Linked DNA regions of Homo sapiens: region 1 is linked to region 2. The links are contacts of gene promoters, found by promoter capture Hi-C in blood cells and fetal thymus (Javierre and others, 2016). All regions are on one chromosome and are shown on one strand. The core of a region is centred on a gene start or on the middle of the fragment in contact, and the rest is flanking DNA. Distances in the headings are between cores, read along the strand shown. Region 1 overlaps CRTC3-AS1 (CRTC3 antisense RNA 1). Region 2 holds the start of FURIN (furin, paired basic amino acid cleaving enzyme).

Region 1 (7,045 bases), core at 1,930-4,429, 190 kb after region 2:
TCAAGCGATTCTTCTGCCTCAGCCTCCTGAGTAGCTGGGATTACAGGCATGTGCCACCACGCCTGGCTAATTTTGTATTTTTAGTAGAGACAGGGTTTCACCGTGTTGGTCAGGCTGGTCTCAAACTCCTGACCTCAGGTGATCCAGCCGCCTCAGCCTCCCAGAGTGCTGGCGTTACAGGTGTGAGCCACCTGCCCGGTGGAAGCAGATTTCTTTAGCAGAGGCTTGTACTGTGGAGCCCGCCCCCAGCCACACCCATGGGGGAGGGGTGAGTGCGTCCTGCTTTCCTCAGATCAACTGAGGGGGACACTGGAACCAGGGAGACACAGAGGTGTCCGAATCACACCTCGAAATCTACAGGGGCGTGTGTATGTATGTTGTCTGCCTGTCAGTCCACTGGGCTTTGGGGTTTTTTTAGTTATTATTATTTTTAATTAAAAAAAATTGAGATGGGTCATCTTGCTGCGTTGCCCAGGCCGGTCTAGAACTCCTGGGCTCAAGCGATCCTCCCACCTTGGCCTCCCAAAGTGCTGGGATAACAGGCGTGAGCCACCCGCCTGGTGTATGTACTCTTCCCTCAGCATTATGTTTTTGGGATTCACCTATGTTTCATGTATCAGTAGTTCATAATATTACACTATTAACTTTTCTTTTTTTTCTTTTTTGAGACGGAGTCTTGCCCTATTGCCCAGGCTGGAGTGCAGTGGCGTAATCACAGCTCACTGCAGCCTCCACCTCCTGGGTTCAAGCAGTTCTCCTGCCTCAGACTCCTGAGTAGCTGGGATTACAGGTGCCTGCCACCATGCTCAGCTTATTTTATATTACACTATTAACTTAAAGCTTATGATAAATATTGTTAAATTCCCCTCCAGAAAAATGTGATCAAGTTTTTTTAATTTTTTTTTTTTTTATTTTTTAAGAGATGAGGTCTTGCCATATTGCCGAGGCTGTTCTTGAACTCCCAGGCTCAAGCAATCCTCCTATCTCAGCCTCCTGAGTAGCTGGGACCACCTGTGCATACCACCACACCCGGCTAATTTTTGTATTTTTTGTGGAGATGGGGTTTCACCATGTTGCCTAGGCTGGTCTCAAACTTCTGAGCTCAAACAACCCTCCCGGCTTGGCCTCCAAAAGTGCTGGGATTACAGGCGTGCGCCACCATGCCCAGCCATGCTGGGCTTTGAAAAAGGGCTGCATCAAGAGACAGATGAAGGTCAGTCAAATGTGTGCATTCCAGATGTGGGTCACAAGCATGAGAGAGAGCGGCTGGCTGTTGGTCTAGATCAGTGGTTCTCACTGAGGGTGATTTTCCACCTGAGGGGATGTTTGGCAACGTCTGGAGACATTTTTGATTGTCACAACTAAGGGGTATTACTAGTGGGGGTCCTCTAGTGGGCAGAGGCCAGAGGTGAGGGGGGGATAGGAGGGCCTTGGAAGTTTGAGAGAGTGAAGAATTGAAGTAGTCATCCCATAAGTAGGGGAGCTAGGTGACACACAGTAGGTTGCCAAGTGTGGTGATGGCTACAGGCAAGATGTAAGAAAATGAAGGTTCCAGAGGTGGAGCCAGGACAGATTCCTGGAGGCCATTCGGGGGAGGGGGCTTCGATAGGATCCCCTAGTAGAGCCTGTGTACACTGGGGTCCATGACCCCGGCCCCTCAGCAGAGCTTCGCTGAAACCTGGAGTGGCACTGAGGATCTCTGGGAACAGTTCCTTCTTTTTTTTTTTTTGAGATGGAGTCTTGTTCTGTTGCCCAGGCTGGAGTGCAGTGGTGCAATCTCAGCTCACTGCAACCTCTGTCTCCCAGGTTCAAGCAATTCTCCTGGTTCAGCCTCTGGAGTAGCTGGGATTACAGGCACGTGCCATCACACTCAGCCAATTTTTGTATTTTTAGTAGAGACAAGGTTTCACCATGTTGGCCAGGCTGGTCTTGAACTCCTGACCTCAGGTGATCCTCCCACCTCAGCCTCCCAAAGTTCTGGGATTACAAGTATGAGCCGCCGTGCCCAGCCAGTTCCATTTTCTCTATTGCTGAAGGTCCTAGTGGTCACTCGTCCAACCTCCACATTCCTCAATGGCCCACATCAGATGAGTCAGTTCCTTCATCAGTGATGGCAGTGATTGCAGGGAACGCTCAGCCTCCTTGGCTCTGATTCTGCCTTACCAGAAGGGAGCCCTTCTGACTTGACCTCGTGGGTGCCATCGAGTGTGGTTCCAGCTCCGCATGTTCCTGACTACTCCTGCACAAGTCTGGGAGGTGAGGGATGTGGGAGGCGCAGCTCTCAGAGCCTCTTACAGAAACAACCAGCCTGGTGCTGCGGTGGCAAGAAACAGACACTGACCCCCGACCCCAAGGGAAATTCACAAGAAGGCTATGGAGTCCCTCACAACATGGAAGGGGAAATTGAAGAGCCTGGTCTGGAAAAGACAGAAAACAGGGAGGCCGTGGGGACCTAGAAGCTGGAACCAACTGAGAGTCTCATCTGGCCACACTGTAAAGATGTGTCAGCCCCAACCTCTTCTTGGCTTTTGCTTCCTCCATTCAAGGGTCAGAGTCTGAGTGCCTAGGTGGGCCCAGAGCCTTCCCTCTCCAGCCTCCCTGCTGCCCCAGAGAGGACAAACACCATTTCTGACTCCCCTACATACTCAGAGTGCATTCTCAGGATCACAGTAGAGGAAGGACTGAGAAAATAAGTGCTCATGAGGCTGATGGGCTGCCTTAGCTTTATCAGCAGCAGAAGAATTCTGGGATGCTCACCTCCCAGAAGACCCTCCACAGTTCCCAAGAGCCTCTTCATCCATAATGAGGGTGACAAAACTTCTCTGAGTCACAGACAGCTTTGAGACTGGGATGGAAACAGAGGATTGCATAAGTTTCAGGGGGCTGCTGGACCCCCATTCCTGAATCCTAACTCTGGGACACCTTCTCCAGCCCGTGTCTGCCTGGCTTAGCTGCAGGCCTCATACACTGTCTCCCTAGGACCTGCAGTTGAACCATTCCATGCTCACGGACACGTGGATTACATGAGCAGGGCCCTAGGCCTCCTCCTAACCTCAGATTTTTTTTTTTTTTTTTCTAAAAGGGCAAGGCACTATTTTAGTCACTGTTTTGCAGGGAGAAAAAAATCCTGTTTATCCTTATGATTCATTTTGGTGGTTTTTGGATAATGTTGTATTGATTCATGACGACTCACTCAGCATCTGGTATGAATTAAATGAGACTTTCTCTTTTTGACAGTAAAATGAAAGATCTTAAACAACGCTAACATTAAAAAGAGGCCTGGAGGGAATACAAGAGTTGGAGCAATCCTGGGGACTTGAGTCAGTTCAGTGGGATGCCCTACCACCTTGGCAAAGCCAGCACAGTGCCATGCAGTTCCAGGGCAGTGCTGCTTGTGACCTTATGTCTGCTCCTCATGAGTACCACGATGACTCCTTGCAGGTCCCATTGCTTCCCACCATATGCTGTTTTATCTTGTAGTCATGATCCCAACTGGACAAATGGGGAAACAGAGGCAGGAAGCTGGCATGGATGTGACATCAGGAGTCAGATTTTCTCTGGTTTGTTCCAGGAAGTTTTCCGTAGAATCCCAGAGGACATCCAGTGATTCTTAACGGGGGATGATTTTGGCACCCCCAGGGGTATTGGGCAATGTCTGGAGGCATTTTGGTTGCCACAACTAGGGAGGTGCTACTGGCATCTACCTGCAGTGTCAGAACAGCCTCCAAAGAACAAAATGATCCAGCCCACATGTCAATAGTGCCGAAGTTGAGAAACCCTGCTCTAACCCAAAGGGACTCCAAATCCCAAGTGATGTGGTGGTTGTCAGGGCATTAGCAGACTTAATGCAAAGGCCTCTCAATATGGCAAAACAGATTGTCTGAAAAATTATGTAATTTTTGTGTTTAAAAAGAGTAGAACCTGGGCAACATAGCAAGACCTTGTCTACAAACATATTCAGGCTGAGAAAATGAAAAATAAAAAAAGACCCTGTCTTGGCCGGGTACGGTGGCTCACGCCTGTAATCCCAGCACTTTGGGAGACGGAGGCAGGTGGATCACAAGGTCAGGAGTTCAAGACCAGCCTGGCCAGTATGGTGAAACCCTGTCTCTACTAAAAATACAAAAATTAGCTGGGCGTGGTGGCACGTGCCTGTAGTCCCAGCTACTCAGGAGGCTGAGGCAGGAGAATCACTTGAACCTGAGAGGCGGAGGTTGCAATGAGCCGAGATCGTGCCACTGCACTCCAGCCTGGGCAACAGAGTGAGATCTGTCTCAAAACAAAAGACCCTGTCTTTACGAAAACAAACAAACAAACAACAACAAATATATATAGAGAGAGACAGAGAGAGAGTGTCAGGTATGGTGGTATGTGCCTGTGGTCCCAGCTGCTCAGGTGACTGAAGCTAGTGGATCCCTTGAGCCCAGGAGTTCAAGGCTGTTGTAAGTCGTGACTGCCATGCACTCCAGCCAAGGAGACAGTGAGATCCTGTCTCAAAAAAAAAAAAAAAAAAAAAAAGTATATATCTTGCCTAGATCATGGTCTCTGTATGTCATTCTCTGCTAAAAGAAACTAGGGCTCCTGCCAAATGGCCAGTCCAAGGTTGGGGCAGCTGAACAAGGAAGGTATCATCACTATGGAGTCTGATTAAAAGGACACAGGGGTTCATGTGAAAAGGCTCTCTCTGACCAAATACAGGATGATTTGAGCAACAAAAAGAACAATGCAAGTATGTTAAAATTCGTATTTGTAAGTTGAAAGAGGAGCTTGTGATCAAAAGATGAAAATGTTCCTTGGCCGGGCATGGTGGCTCACACCTGTAATCCCAGCACTTTGGGAGGCCGAGTCGGGTGGATCACCTGAGGTCAGGAGTTTGAGACCAGCCTGGCCAACATGGTGAAACCCCATCTCTACTAAAAAATACAAAAAATTAGCCAGGTGTGGTGGTGGATGCCTGTAATCCCAGCTACTCAGGAGGCTGAGGCAGGAGAATCGCTTGAACCTGGGAGGTGGAGGTTGCAGTGAGCCGAGATTGTGCCACCGCACTCCAGCCTGGGCAACAAGACCAAAACTCCGTCTCAAAAAAAAAGAAAAGAAAAAAGAAAAGGTACCGCCAAATCATGTGACTTCTAGAGGTTTCCTTTATGAAAAAAAAAAAGTGGTGCTTCCATTACCTCTTAAACCCAGATGTTCTCATTTCCTTTAGTGTCAACAGTGGCGGAAAGGGAAGTTTGTATCACCTGTGTTAATGCTGCTCTGGAAAGGGAGCCAGAATGAGAGTGCACAGTGATCACACAGTCACCATCAAATAAACCATGACTACGCACATACTCTGGGATGGCTGCATCTCTCCTGTGGGAAAGAGAGAGATAGAAAGAGAGAGCAACATGTCATCCGATGACTGCAGCCTAGATGGATATGGCTGTGATAGAGTGCTTCAATTGGAATCTGCCTCTTGTAACTGAAAATTACTTTAAACAATAAAAAGAAGTTATTGACTCATAGTCAAGAAAGCTTGACAGTGCTGCAGTGCAGTCCTTGGACTACAGTGGTCCACAAACTGTTATTGGTCCACGATAAGATATCTATGTGGCTGCAAGATCCACGTGCATGACCCTTCTTTCCTACCTTGTTGATGATGCTACAGGATAACGAGAACACCTGGGTTTAAGAGGCATAGAAGAACCACTTTTTATAAAGGATACCTCCAGTGGATGAAGCTATATGATTCATCTTTATTGTGTGTTACAAAAGTATCAGTCAATAAAATAACAATAAAACTGAAAATGAAACGGAAAACTGCTGTTATTACAGACAGTTCGAAAAACAGTGGCCTAGAGTGGTGATTCCCAGTCCTGGCTGCTCAACAGAACTACCTGGTGAGCTTTGACAACTCCCAGTAATGAGGTTCATTCCCAGGGATTTTCATTTAATTGGCCTGGGGTGGGGCCAAAGCATGGCTAGTTTTAGAAGCTTGCCAGGTAGTTCTAATGTGTAGTGAGCGTTGAAAACTAGTGGTTTGGATTCAGGTTGGCCTCAGCTGAGGCTTTATCCAGTGGTCAGGAATGTCACCAAGGCCTGGTGGTCTCATAGCACTAAATGGTCATATTAGAAAAGGAGAAAGAACTCAAATCAATGACCTCAGCTTCTACCTCAAGAAACTAGAAAATGTTCAAGTTCTTCTGCTCTGACCTAAAAGGTGTAAAAAAATAAATGTAGGGGCCGGGCGCGGTGGCTCAGGCCTGTAATCCCAGCACTTTGGGAGGCCGAGGCAGGCGGATCACCTGAGGTCAGGAGTTTGAGACCAGCCTGGCAAACATGGAGAAACCCCGTCTCTACTAAAAATACAAAATTAGCCAGGCGTGGTGGCGCATGCCTGTAATCCCAGCTACTCTAGAGGCTGAGGCAGGAGAATCACTTGAACCTGGGAGGCAGAGGTTGTGATGAGCTGAGATCACGCCATTGCACTCTAGCCTGGGCAACAAGAGCAAAAACTCAGTCTCAAAAAAAAATTAAAAAAAAAAATTTTAAAGAAACTAGAAAAATAGAGCAAATTCATTCCAAAGTAAGCAAATAAAAGGAAATAATAAAGATCAAAGGGGAGAAATTAATGAAATGGAAAACACAAGAACAATAGAAAAAGTCAATGAAACTGAAAGCTGGTTCTTTGAAAATATCAATAAAATTGATAACTTCTAGCCTGACCGATTATGAAAAAAACAAAACAAAACAAAATACAAATTGCTGATATCAGAAATGAGAGAGGAGACATCACTACAGATTCCATAGATATTGAAAGGATAACAAGGGAACATTATAAACAACTTTATGCCAACAGATTCAATAACTTAGATGAAATGGATAAATTCTTGAAAAACTTAAGAGCTTACTCATGAAGAAATAGGTCATTTGAATAGCCTAATGTTAATTAAAGAAATTGAATTTATAGTTAAAAACCTTGTCACAGGCTGGGCATGGTGGCTTACACCTGTAATCCCAGCACTTTGGGAGGCCAAGGTGGATGGATCACTCAAGGTCAGGAGTT
Region 2 (6,138 bases), core at 3,120-5,619:
CCAGCACCAGAACCTCCTGACACAGAGAGCCACTCTGGGCCACTCAAATTGCGCCTCACCCCAGGACCGACTGCTGTTTCCCAGACACTGGGGGTCTGGCTCTGACACAGCCACAGAGCAGGCCACGGGAGGGCCACTCGGACACCCAATCAGTCTCTCCCTCTAGCAGAGACACCACGCGGGGTCCTGTTACCAGCCCTGGGAGGCTCCCGTGAATTTATCGCTCCCAGTCCCTGCCCACTATTTGCTGGATGATCTTAACAAGTCACTTCCTCTCCCTGGGCCTCAGTTTCCTTGGTGGTAAAAACTGCTGGACCAGCGGCTTTCAAACTTTTTAAAAAGCCACAGAATCCTTTTTAAAAATCAAATGCTCCGTAGAAGCCCAATATAGGAAATAGTAAAACGAGGGCTGCCCTGCTTGAGAAGAGGTCAGGCTTGGCTAATCTCCTATGCTGTGTCCACACCTGCTCAGCACCCGCCCTCACCAGGCCATATCACCCGGGTTCTCCTCGCACTTCCCAAGTCAGAATAGGAATCCCAACACTCTCCGGTGGATGAGGGTCTGCACCCCAGGGGCCAGGGGGTAGAGGATGATGGGAAAGCGGGTTCTGACCAGACAAGTGACTGCCGTCAGACCTGTCTGGCAAGCAGGCCGCCCCTTGGTCCAGCCACACAGCGGGGGCACAGGGGCCTCGGCCAGGCCGCGGCAGAAGGCAGCCCAGGGACCTACCTGCGCCGGCCGCCGGCGCCCGCGGATCCCGCACCCGAGTCCTGGCCGCACAGGTGTGCGGGCGGGGGCGAGGCCCAAGCGAAGGAGCCCCCGCCTCGCCCCCGGCCGCTCCTCCCCTCCCCGGGCGGAACGCAGGCCCTCCTCGGCCGCGGAGTGGGCGAGCCGGCGGCAGCCCCGGTGGCGGCGGGGAGGCTGGAGCACCCGGCGCCTGCGGAATTTTCTCCCCATCCCGCCCCCAGCAGGGGCCCCGCAGGCGCTTCCTGAGGTCAGAGGGCTCGCCCTGGCCCCACGCGGAAAAGTACCAGCCACGGCCGGGGGGCCGAGACGGGCCCGGCGCGCTCAGGTGGGCTGCGGAGCGCCCTGTCTGCTCCCGGCAGCTCCACCCTCGGGGCCGGCCCCGGGGCCAGTTCCGGAAAGCCGGCGGGCAGCCGGGCCCCGGGGGACCCGGGTCAGGGCTGCACCGGCGCCAGTGCCCCGACCCTCCCCGGCCCGAGCACCCGGGCCGCGGAGCCCGCTCCTGGGGCAGAGCTCCACGGCCCGGCCCGGCCGGCTCCCCTCGGGCCCGGCTCCCAGACGCGCTTGCCTTCCCCGGGCCCCGGGCCCCGCGCCCTCGCTACTTACCCTGGGGAGCCCTGGCGGGGAAACTTTTCCAGGCGACCGCCGCGGCGGCTCGGGCGCCCCTCGGCCGCCCATGCCGCCCGGGCCCGACTGCGGGCCCGCGTTCCCAGCGCCGTGGGCCCCAGCGCGTCCGGCCCCGCGCGGCGGCCCTGCGGGGCCTTCTGGGGCGCCCGCTGCCTCCGGCTCCTGGTAGGGGCAGGTAGGAAGTGGGGCAGGCGATCCCAAAGTCCTCGCGGCCGCCCGGCGCGTCCCTCAGGCCCCGCTGCCGTGCCCCCGCCCCCGGGCTCGGCTCTTCGCCCCGCGAGCTCCCCGGGAAGACGGCCGCGGAGACCCGAACTCGGAACCAAAGGGAAAGGCTTGGGGGAGGCACTCCGAGCCCTGCCTCAGCCGGACTCTTGGGGGACTGGCCCTCTCCGTCCCCCGCTTCCCCACTCCTGGGCGACGAATTTGAGCCTGACCGGGTTAAGTGCCCAGGGACGGCGGACCTGGGGTCCTCCACTCCCAGGTCGAGGGAGGACTGCACGGCGGCAGGACCAGCCTCCTCTTGGCCTACTGTTAGAGGAGTCACGACTTCGTCTGCATTTGTATAGACAGGTGGATATATGAGCAGAAGTAGCCCACCTCCTTTTAATATTTTTAGCTTTTTTTTCTTTTTAGACACCAACCGCTTGCCAGGCACCAGGCCAGTCACTTTACATTATCTCCTTCTTATGTACATGATTTAATCCACATAATCCTTTCAGGCTGAGATTATTAATCCCATTTTACAGATAAGGAAACTGAGGCGCACAACGTTTAAATAATTTGCGCAAAGTCCCACAACCAGCAGACCTCAGATCCTGCAAGAGACTGGGGTGTTTGGCAGAGCCTGAATCCAAGCTACTTGCAATATACCAGCCGGAGCCTCTCCCTCCCTGGGCCCTAGAAAACGTTTGTGCTACTTGGCTGAGGCCGACGCTGCTTGAGCTGAGAAAGAAAAGAAGGAAAATGTGGCCAGGAGCTTCCCAGGCTGGGTTATTCCAAGGTCGCAGAGTAGCCTGTGCCCATCTCTTCTCGCTCCCTGTGAGATAACCTGGCTGCACAGGATCAGCCTGTGGCCTCCTTAACACAGGTTCCCGGGTAATGGGAAAAAAAAAATCCACTGAGTGTTTTCTATGAGCCAGGCACCATTGAGAGCTCTTTTCCTGTGTCAACCCGTTTTATCCTCACCACATGCCCCATGAGGTGGGTACAGTACATTTTCCTTTAAGTACCTTTGATGTATCACTGTCTGCATTTTATAGAGGAGGAAACTGAGGCCCAGAGAGGTTAAATCATGATAATTCTTAAGGCAACTGGTGAAAAATCAATCAGCAAACCGGTTCAAATCCCTGGGGCACTATTTTTTGCTGGGACACCTTAGACAAGTTAATTTCTCAGGGACTTCCTCAATTTACCCCTCTATAAAATGGAGATAATATTTAGTGAATGGGATCAGGTACGATTCGGGCACCTTTACAAACACTGCAAGAACTGGAAACTGGAGGAACAATGCTGGGTCCTCAAAGTTGAGCGGGAAGATAAGTCCAGTTGGCCTTGTCCCAAAGTGGGGACTTCCCCTCCGCCAAGGAACTAAGACTTGTAGGGGCCACACTGGGTAGCGCCAGCCACAGTTGGGAGAACAATACTCCAGCAGTCAGACTGAGGCAGGAAGTGACTCACGCTTCTTCCTTAGGCTGTGAGCAAGAGAACTCCATTGAGGGGAAACAGGGACAGGGCTGGCCCCACCTACCCACTTGTCCTCAGGCCTAGAAGAAAGGTCAGCCCAGAAAAATAGCAATACTTGCTGCTTCAGGTGCCCCACCCATCCTGGAGACTGGCCCCAGGGGAGCCCGCAGTGGGTCTTTGGAGGGGGAGGGGCTAGCCTAGGCTCAGATGACTGCCACCCAGGCAGAGGCGGTGGGAAGTGGAGCTTCCCAGTTTCTTCCAGCCAGCTTGCCTCTTCAATCTGCATAAGGCAAAATTCTTTAAAGTGGGTTCTCAGAGGTGCCTCCCTGAGAGGGAGGAATGAGGACAGGATTGGGCAGTTGAGCACCTCTCTCTGCTTCACCCAGAGTGTCTCACATTTTAGGGTTTCACATGAGATTGTATTTTACAACAATTCTGCTGCTAAAAAGAATTTGAAAGCCACTCTCTGTGAGACTTCTCTGGAAAAAAATCCCATTTGACCACAACTGGTGACTTCTGCCTTTATCTCATTGCAACAAGTCCTGTGGGCAGGTATTGTTCTCTTTATCACTCTCAACTGGCCCTGGAGCCCAGGTCTCCTGACCTGGGGCCCTAGGGGCCCAAGGTCCTCTGGATCCCACCTTACCAGTTTTACACAGCAGTTAGCAGGACTTGGGCATGTGACAGAAGTCTGGAGATGAGTGAGAGGAGCAGGGCCTGATGGGTAAGTGGGGGCTGTAAAGGGGCTCCATTTTCCCAGCAGGGCTCTGGGAGGAAGAGTCCAGCTAGGCCTCTCTTTATCCTTGATTTGGGGCTAATCCAGAGAGGCTCCTGAGAATCACATAGTCCTAAATCCACCCAGTCATCCTGACTCCAAGCACTCCTGTTGTCTCCTTGGGGTGCTCTGGGAGTCTTCTCTGAAATCTCTGGTCCACCTCAGGCACAGCAAATAAAGCCTTCGGCAGCAGCACCCACACCTAGTTGTAAGCAGAATGTCTACACAACATTCAGACGTGCATAGAAGGGTGCACAACAAAATTCCATTGGTGTTCTCTCCGAATGAAAGGGTCACATTTGCGATCTTTGTTTTCTTCTTTTTGCCTACCTGCATTTTTCAGGAATGTCTACAAGAACTCCTAAAATAATTAAACCTTTAAGTCAATGCAAAATCGAATAAAGCATGTCCATACTTCACCATCCAGCTCCAGAGCACCTGGGATTCATCCTGGCCGCTGCTGCTTCCCCGCCACTCACTGCAGCTGCAACAGTCAGGCTCCTATCCCTTCACAGGGCGGGGCCCTTCCAGTTCTGGCTAAACCACTTTGGGAAAACCTTCTTTATATGACAGGCAAACAGGGTGTCTGTGGGTGGGGGGAGGAGCTAAAAGTGATGTGGTGGTGACATATCTGGTCGCACTGGAACTGGATCCTAACATGGCCAGCCAGCCCTTCTCATTTTCCTCATTTATTGGGGTGGGTCTGCACTTACCTTCTGCCTGGCTTTGCTGCATCCCAGCCACTGGCTGACTTAATGACTTCCTTCCGCCAGCTCCAGCTCCTTGTGTTCTGCCTTGCCTTCCATGGCCAGCCAGTGCTGCCACAATTATGTACCTAATAAATGCTTTGGGTGCAGTCTCGCCTGGCAGACATTCATTGAGCAGCTGCTGAACGCTGGGCTCTGGTGCCCCATAGCTGGGTCCCTTAGAGCTTGTCCATAGGAAGCCAGAGACCACCTCTCTAGTAGGGTTGCATGGAGGTACCTGGGACACACCAGGGTCTTCCTCAGTCTGCGACCTCCCTGGCCTTCCAGCTTCAACAAGCCTGCTGCCCATCCTTCTCTCTCTCGATTCAGAAATGTGAATCACTCAATCCTCATAGTTTTTTTTGTTTGTTTGTTTTATGGGTTTGTTTTTTTTTTTTCTAGACAAGAGTCTCGCTCTGTTGCCCAGGCTGGAATGCAATGGCCTGATCACAGCTCACTGCAACCTCTGCCTTCTGGGTTCAGGCGATTCTCATGCTTCAGCCTCCCAAGTAGCTGGGATTACAGGCTTACGCCACTCGTATTTTTTTTTTTTTTTTTTGTATTTTTAGTAGAGATGGGGTTTTGCCATGTTGGCCAGGCTGGTCTCGCACTCCTGACCTTAAGTGATACACCCACCTCGGCCTCCCTAAGTGCTGGGATTATTAGGCGTGAGCCACCACGCCCGGTCCCCTTGTTGAGTTTTCAATCAGTTTGTCATCCTGAACAGGGTTTCTCAACCTTGGCATTATCAACATCTTGGGTCGGATAATTCTCTGTAGGGGACACTGCACTCTACATTGCAGGATGTTCAGTCGCATCCCTAGTCACTAAACATTAGCTGCTAGTAGCATTCCCGCTCCCATGATGACAACCAAAAAGATCTCCAGGTATTGCCAAATGTCCCTTGGGAGACAAAAATCTCTCCCAGCAAAGAACCACTGTCGCAGAATGAGGAGTGGGAACGTCACAGGATGGTGGTTAGTGTGCCAGGGTTCGAGGCAGCAAGAGTTGTCTGCTGGGAACTAAGCTCTGAGACAGCTAGCAGTGAGGGAGAAAACTCCCAAACTTGAAACTGCCCAGTATGCCAGCACAACAATGGGCCGTTTAGTGATCAGGGCAAACAATCATGCATCCTCATGACATCTGAGATCACTTTCCATCGTGTTGGTGATAATGCTGAATCAAGGAAAGGATCAATCATGTTGATCATACTCCATTTTCTAAGGTGGGGAGGTGTGTGAGCCCTTGTAGCATTAAAGACGTATTTGGAAAACAGATCAGTGCTTGCTTGGGGAAGGGGGCAGGGAGGGGCGGGAGGAAACTTTTGGGAATGATGGACATGTTCATTATCTTGATTGTGGTGATGGTTTCATGGGTGTGTCCATATATCAAAACATATCAAGTTGTACACTTTAAATCCATGCCGTTTATAGTGTGTCAGTTATACCTCAGCAAAGCTGTTTTGAAGATGTGTTGTTTAAAGTTTTAGTGCTTGAAGGGCATTATTTTGAAAATTCACTACTGTGGAGTAGTCCATTTCTTTGCTGAATAAATAAGGGGTC

The links. Contacts are between HindIII fragments. The CHiCAGO score rates a contact against its expected background, and 5 or more counts as called.
Region 1: a fragment that was not itself captured here is called in contact with the fragment with the promoter of FURIN in region 2 in 1 of 17 cell types (monocytes); the score reaches 5.5 in monocytes.

Annotation. Positions count from the first base shown.
Region 1 is chr15:90,676,776-90,683,820 of GRCh38, reverse strand. The region is part of intron 2 of CRTC3-AS1 (CRTC3 antisense RNA 1); the gene reads left to right. Among named protein-coding and RNA genes, the nearest start is that of LINC01585, 20 kb to the right of the region's middle. RefSeq lists enhancers at 264-764, 5,681-5,740. The HindIII fragment of the contact is 4,674 bases long and covers 843-5,516 here.
Region 2 is chr15:90,866,819-90,872,956 of GRCh38, reverse strand. FURIN (furin, paired basic amino acid cleaving enzyme) reads right to left here and starts at 4,369. Exons shown (of 16, transcript NM_002569.4): 1 at 4,246-4,369. RefSeq lists enhancers at 2,904-3,198, 3,136-3,245, 2,984-3,278, 3,346-3,395, 2,638-3,837 and 2 more and silencers at 738-1,377, 1,418-1,627. The HindIII fragment of the contact is 27,514 bases long and covers 1-6,138 here.